2 separate regions of the Homo sapiens genome follow, and region 2 is linked to region 1. Evidence: promoter capture Hi-C in 16 types of primary human blood cells and fetal thymus (Javierre and others, 2016). All regions are on one chromosome and are shown on one strand. The core of a region is centred on a gene start or on the middle of the fragment in contact, and the rest is flanking DNA. Distances in the headings are between cores, read along the strand shown. Region 1 holds the start of GABARAPL2 (GABA type A receptor associated protein like 2). Region 2 overlaps CENPN-AS1 (CENPN antisense RNA 1).

What was found. Contacts are between HindIII fragments. The CHiCAGO score rates a contact against its expected background, and 5 or more counts as called.
Region 2: a fragment that was not itself captured here is called in contact with the fragment with the promoter of GABARAPL2 in region 1 in 1 of 17 cell types (total CD4 T cells); the score reaches 5.8 in total CD4 T cells.

Annotation. Positions count from the first base shown.
Region 1 is chr16:75,564,604-75,567,927 of GRCh38, forward strand. It overlaps GABARAPL2 (GABA type A receptor associated protein like 2), which reads left to right and starts at 1,776. Exons shown (of 4, transcript NM_007285.7): 1 at 1,776-1,917; 2 at 2,249-2,304. The coding sequence starts at 1,884. RefSeq lists a silencer at 1,839-2,248 and an enhancer at 2,238-2,991. The HindIII fragment of the contact is 5,212 bases long and covers 1-3,181 here.
Region 2 is chr16:81,032,395-81,035,468 of GRCh38, forward strand. It overlaps CENPN-AS1 (CENPN antisense RNA 1), which reads right to left. Exons shown (of 4, transcript XR_007065134.1): 2 at 2,361-2,532. It also overlaps a transcript of CENPN not described here. Among named protein-coding and RNA genes, the nearest start is that of ATMIN, 1.9 kb to the right of the region's middle. The HindIII fragment of the contact is 1,237 bases long and covers 737-1,973 here.

The DNA of each region.
Region 1 (3,324 bases), core at 526-3,025:
ATCCTAGCACTTTGGGAGGCCGAGGCGGGCAAATCACTTACTTGAGGTGAGAAGTTCAAGACCAGCCTGGCGAACATGACAAAACCCCATCTCTACCAAAAATACAAAAATTAGCTGGGTGTGGTGGTGTGTCCCTGTAGTCCCAGCTACTCAGGAGGCTGAGGCAGCAGAATCGCTTGAACCCAGGAGGCAGACTGCAGTAAGCCAAGATTGTGCCACTGAACTCCAGCCTGGGTGACAGAGAAAGACCCTGTCTCCAAAAAACAAAAACAAAAACAAAGAAACAAAAAAACCTATTCTAGTTACTCAGACACACAGTCTTAAAATAACAAAAATACTTATAGAATGAAGCTAGATTCCACAGCATCGATCAGGAATTTCCAGTGTAGGAAATGATGAACTACCACATTCAAACATACAGGCTTTACAGGTGCATCAGAATCACAAGCACGTGGCAGGGTTCATGTGCCCAATTAAGTGAATATTCCTGCTACATGTTCAGCAGCTTATAAACAGATGGTGACCCAGACCAGACTGCCTTGATGAGTCTGCTTGGAAAAAAGGCATTACATCACTGATTGGAGAACCTCAAAGCATATGTCCGGGCAGGTGACACACACACAGCTCAGGCTGTGATTGCTAAACCACTCCCACAGCCAAATAAGGAAACCCATCTCATGACCAGCTCTCAGGGGAATTCTCCGAGTCTGACAGTCACCTCTAACTCCTCTGCCAGTTAAAATTAAGGGGTCTGTGATCAGTGATGTTACACTCCTCAAATGTGCATTTTTTTTTGAGGCGGAGTCTTGCTCTGTTGCCCAGGCTGGAGTGCAGTGGTGTGATCTCGGCTCACTGCCACCTCCACCTCCCTGGTTCAAACGATTCTCCTGCCTCAGCCTCCCGAGGAGCTGGGACTACAGGCGCCCACTACCATGCCTGGCTAATTTTTGTATTTTTAGTAGAGACGGGGTTTCACCATGTTGGCCAGGCTGGTCTTCAACTCCTGACCTCAGGTGATCCACCCGCGTCGGCCTCCCAAAGTGTTGGGATTACAGGCGTGAGCCACCGTACCCCGCCTCAAATGTGCATTTGTGATACCTTTTCGTAAATGTTTATTCAAATATTTATTCACGAATAAAGGAAGAAAACGGGATTTGTTTAAATTCAATTTCTAGGTCCAAGACAACCTACTACGGCTGTCCCTAATACGGACCTCCGGGTTGTCCTCAGTGCCGCTTCCAACAGTGTCCTCAAACACCCTCCCCTCCCATAATGAGCCCCCAACCTGTCACCACTCCGAGCAATACTCCCCAAACTGTCAACGCCCTAAACAGCTCCCTTGTTATCGCCAAGCTCTAGAAAGCCCTCCTTATGTCATTCTTACCCCTAAAGACCGTTCTTGTCACCAATTCCCCAGACTTCCCCTATGAACCGCTCTAAGAGCCCTCAGCTATCAGCCACACCCCCAAACAGCCCTCAGTAAGAGCCCTACACTATCAGCCAGACGTTTTCCGCCACCAACGCTCCCGAGACCCCACTCCTGTCACCAGTTCCCCGAACATTCCTGCGAGCAATGTCGCAGATACTGCTCACAGACGTCCCCATAACCAACTTCTTCGCCACCGCAGCCCAGGAGCCCCCAAAGGGGTCCTCCGCGGCCCCGCCCCTTTACGTGCGGCCCCGCCCCTTGGCGTGGCGCCCTGACAAATGGCGCCGGAAGCCCCGCCCCCGGCCGGTTGCTAGGCTCCGACAGCCGGAAGTCCCGCCTGCCGTGTAGTCGCCGCCGTCGCTGCCGCTGCCGCTGCCGCCGTCGTTGTTGTTGTGCTCGGTGCGCTGAGCTCCGCGGCTCCGCGAGCCGGTTCCGTCCCCTTCCCGCCGCCGCCATGAAGTGGATGTTCAAGGAGGACCACTCGCTGGGTAAGCACTTGGTCGTCGGCCCGGCTGCTGGGGGCTGGGGCGGCGGGTGGGCCCCCTCCCCCACTCGGGCGGCCCTGGGCCGAGTGGAGCGGGGCGGATGCCCTGCTGCGGGCTGGAGTCGCCCATGCCCTGGTGCCTCGGGCAGCGGCCCCCTGACCCCATGTCACCCTCCGCGGGCCTTGCTGGGAGCTAGTAGGGGACAGGACCGCGGCCCCGGGGACGCCGGAACCAGGGCCTGGGTTGTACGCAGGGCGCAGGAGGAGGAGGGCCGGGGGCCGGGAACCGACCGGTGGGCAGGCGCGGCCGTCAGCCCCGTTTGTTTCTCCCACAGAACACAGATGCGTGGAGTCCGCGAAGATTCGAGCGAAATATCCCGACAGGGTTCCGGTGAGTGGACTCTCCGCCCCCTCACCTCGCTGTCACCTCTGTCGTCTGGGACCCGTGATAGGCCCCAGGCCATTCAACAGTTGACAAGTTGAGGTTCCAGTCCCAGTTACAGTAGCTGACGGGCCAGACCGGGATGAGGCCGCCCAGGGCCGGGGCGTGAGGGGCTCGGGCTGGTGCTGTTCAGGGTGCCTCAGTGCTGAATCTCCCGATCTAGGCCAGCGAGCCGTCTGCAGCCTCGGGGCTCCCTGGCCAATTATGTAAGGAACGATGTTCTAGGACAGGGCAACAGGTCACTGCCACTTTTGGGAATGGTGGTGGAGGGAGACTGTCATTTTGGTCTTGGAAGTGGTACTTGAGTCTCAGGACGTTCATCTTTTACTTTGTCTCCATCTTTACCTAACTTCTAGCTCCGTTATCTCACCTTGACCCTGTCATCCTTGCCTGACCAAAATAATGTGAAAAGCCGCTGAAAACCCCTTCTGCCATATTTTCTTCTTAGTCAATAATAAATATAATGTTATATTTCTTCCATGGTTGGGGAGATAGTTTTGTAATCGTTATTAATTTTTAATGGACATTAAGGCCTGTTATTGTAGCTCTTTGCTTGTGAATAATTTGTCTGGGGAAAGGAGTAGGAGGGACGGATTTGAAACTTGTTCAGAGAGGAGCAACAGGCCAAATGAAGAACTTGGTTCTTGGCTGGCTAAAATTCCAGGCATTCCAATTAGTCCATCCATTCTTGTCTCCTGTGTTCCTTGGGAACACAGTAGTGTTTCCTGTAGTGTGAAGGTGGATCCATTCTGGGGTCCTGGAGTAACGGGCCATGGATGAAACCCTCCCCAGATATTCTTAGGTCTGCCCAGATAAAATGTGGAAAAGCTTAGTGGTAAGGGCTGCATTTCTCTTACATAATTGACCACAGAAAAGCACTTACTGTTTCCCTGTAACACATTTATATCAATTCTTAACCTCCAGAGCGTGTGGTTTATTAAGCCAAAGACATATTTTCTCCTGCTATGC
Region 2 (3,074 bases), core at 105-2,604, 5.5 Mb after region 1:
ATCTCCTTACTCTCCTATGAAAAAGGGTATATAAGCGTCCACACCCCATTGGGGGTTGGGGAATCATCACTCTGATGCCTCCCCTCCCCACCAGGCACGTTAATAAAACTTGTATGTCTTTTCTCCTATTAATCCGTCTTTTATCAGTTGATTTTCAGTGTTTTTTTTTTTTTAGCACTTGTTTGCAGGATCCAAAAGCTGCTCTGCTATTCTGGAAGCCACAGTCAAGGGACCCAGGACCCGAGCAGCTGGCAGAAGGACTTGTACCTTCTGTTTGTCCCATTGTATCCAAGATGTTAAAATCATGATGTCACAACATTTAGACATTTAAATGGTTAATCAAATGTATGTCTCTCCTGATATACAGCTAACTGCTATAGACTAATGCAGGCCTCCTTGTTAAAATGGACCCTTTGTTACTCAAATTTGACCAATCTTGGAAGCTTGGATGTGCACTGACTTGACAACCACTTTTTGTGGGACATAACACTCTAGACACAGGTGCTTCTAGCTCTAAGGGGAACAGATAACTAATCTGTGGCCAACCAACCAATGATTAATCAGCTATGCTGCCTCGGATCTTGATCAAAAAAGGAAAATGTGAAAAGTGATACACAAAATGGCATCACTTTGGTTCAGAGCTCTAAAATGGAGTTGGGAAGCCATTCTAAGAAGGACTGCCTGCACAATCTGCAACTTGCAAAACACAAAAACAAAAAATATGAACTTGCCTTGAAGCTTTGAACTGGGCCAAAACTGCAATAACCACTACATCCTGGAAAACTGAATTTCACCAGTGCTACAACTCCTGAACAGCGGCAACCAATCAACTATGGATTCATGTACTAAGCCAGCCACCTCCACCAATGATAATTCTTTCAAAACAATTTGTGTATTAACCCTCTGCTTTCTTTTAAAAACATCTACTTCTCTCCCTCTTTTCAGAACCCCATTTGGCTTCTAGGTGAATCTGTGTCTCCCAAATTGTAATTTCTAAGACCCCAATCAAAATGCCTTGTTTGGCTGGACGTGGTAACTTGCATCTATAATCCCAGCACTTTCGGAGGCCGAGGCAGGTGGATCACTTGACCCCAAGCTGGCCAAAATGGCGAGACCCTGTCTCTTTTCTTTTTTTTTTTTTTAATTAAAAAAAAATGCCTTGTCTTACTGCTTTGCAGTGTGGTCTTTCACCTCTTCTTTTTTTTTTTTTTTTTTTTGAGACAGTCTTGCTCTGTCACCAGGCTGGAGTACAGTGGTGCGATCTTGGCTCACCACAACCTCCGTCTCCTGGGTTCAAGCGATTCTCCTGCCTCAGCCTCCTGAGTAGCTGGGATTACAGGCGTGCGCACCACACCCGGCTAATTTTTGTATTTTTAGTAGAGACAGAGTTTCACCATGTTGGCCAGGATGGTCTCGATCTCTTGACCTCGTGATCCGCCCTGCCTCGGCCACCCAAAGTGCTGGGATTACAGGCGTGAGCCACCATGCCTGGCCCTTTCACCTCTTCTTGGTTGACATAAGCAATCAGTTCTACAGCAGATACCAGCTGGGTATGCTCCAGTTCAATTCCAACACTAACTACCTGGCGATATCATCAGACCCCATAGGTTAAGGGCTCAGTCCCACAAAACTGCCACCCACTTCTGAGGCCAGTTGCCAGCCCCAGGTTGTTTCACCTGCGCTTCTGACTAACCAGCTATAAATTGCATTTCCCACAACCCTCTCTTCATGTTCAATTAATTTGCTAGGGCAGCTCACAGAACTCAGGAAGACACATAGACTGACTTCTTACAAGGGATGTTACAAAGGATTCAGATGAAAAGATGCATAGGGCAAGAGCTTCCACGCATGCCCTCTTTGAGTGCGCCTCCCTCCAGGAAACTCCATGCATTCAGCTATCTGGAAGTTCTCCAAACCCATTTCTTTTGGGATTTTATGGAGGCTTCATTACCTAGGAATGATTGATCAGCTTAAGCTTCAGCCCCTGTCTCCTCCCCAGAGGTTGAGGGGGAGGGCTGAAAGTCTCAAGCCTCTAATCCTACCTTGGTCTTTCCAGTGACCAGTCCCATCCTAAAGCTACCTAGGGACTGTGAGTCATCAGTCAACTAATTAGCATACAAAAAAACACCAATTTGCTGATTCCAAGGATTTTAGGAATTGCATGCCAGGACAAAGACCAAATATATACTTCACATTATCACAGTTATCTTGCAAGGCAAAGGGACTTGGCAGTTGGAGAAATTATCCTGGATGATTTGAATGGGCCCAATGTCATCACAGGGGGCCTCAAGAATAGAAGAATCAGAGGGATCACTACTGAAGAAATCAGAGTGATGTGATGTGACGAAGACTCAACTCACCGTTACTGATTCTGGAGATGGAGGAAGGGTCCGCAAGCCAAGGAATGTAGGCAACCTCTAGAAGCTGGGAAAGGCAAGTGAACAGATTCTCCCCTGGAGCCTTGGGAAGGAATACAGCCCTGCTGACACCTTGATCTTAGCCCAGCAGTCTCATTTCTTTTGACCTCCAGAGCTGGAAGATAATAAATTTGTGTTAAGGCAGTAAGTTTGTGGTAATTTATTAATAGCAAGAGAAAACGAATATAGCTGCTAGTATGTAAAAGGTGGAAATTTTCACATAAAACTCTAGCCATACCAAAGATGAGTAGCAGCTGCCCCCTTTTAATAAAGGATGTGTTTCCAATTTCACTGCAGTCCTCACCCCTCCCTTTTGTCTACCCCAGCCTCCTATGTCCATTTACATGAACTACCCAGTCTAAGTATTAAGTTTTGTAATCGTATACTGAACTGCAGTGTCTCCCAAACAGTAATCCTAATTTCAGCAGCTAAAATAGAAGCAAGCAAATCCAGCCTTCTTAAAATGATTAATCCTATCAATAATAACAATCTTTTCATTTGTATAGTGTGGTCTAGGTCAAGTTACTTAATTTATATAAGCCTAAATGTCCTTCTCTGCACAAGGTGGGGCAAGTTACAGTACATACCCGCTACAGTCGTTTTGAAGACAAAATGAGACACAGCATGAAAAGTGCATCCACCAGACCCACCTGGTAC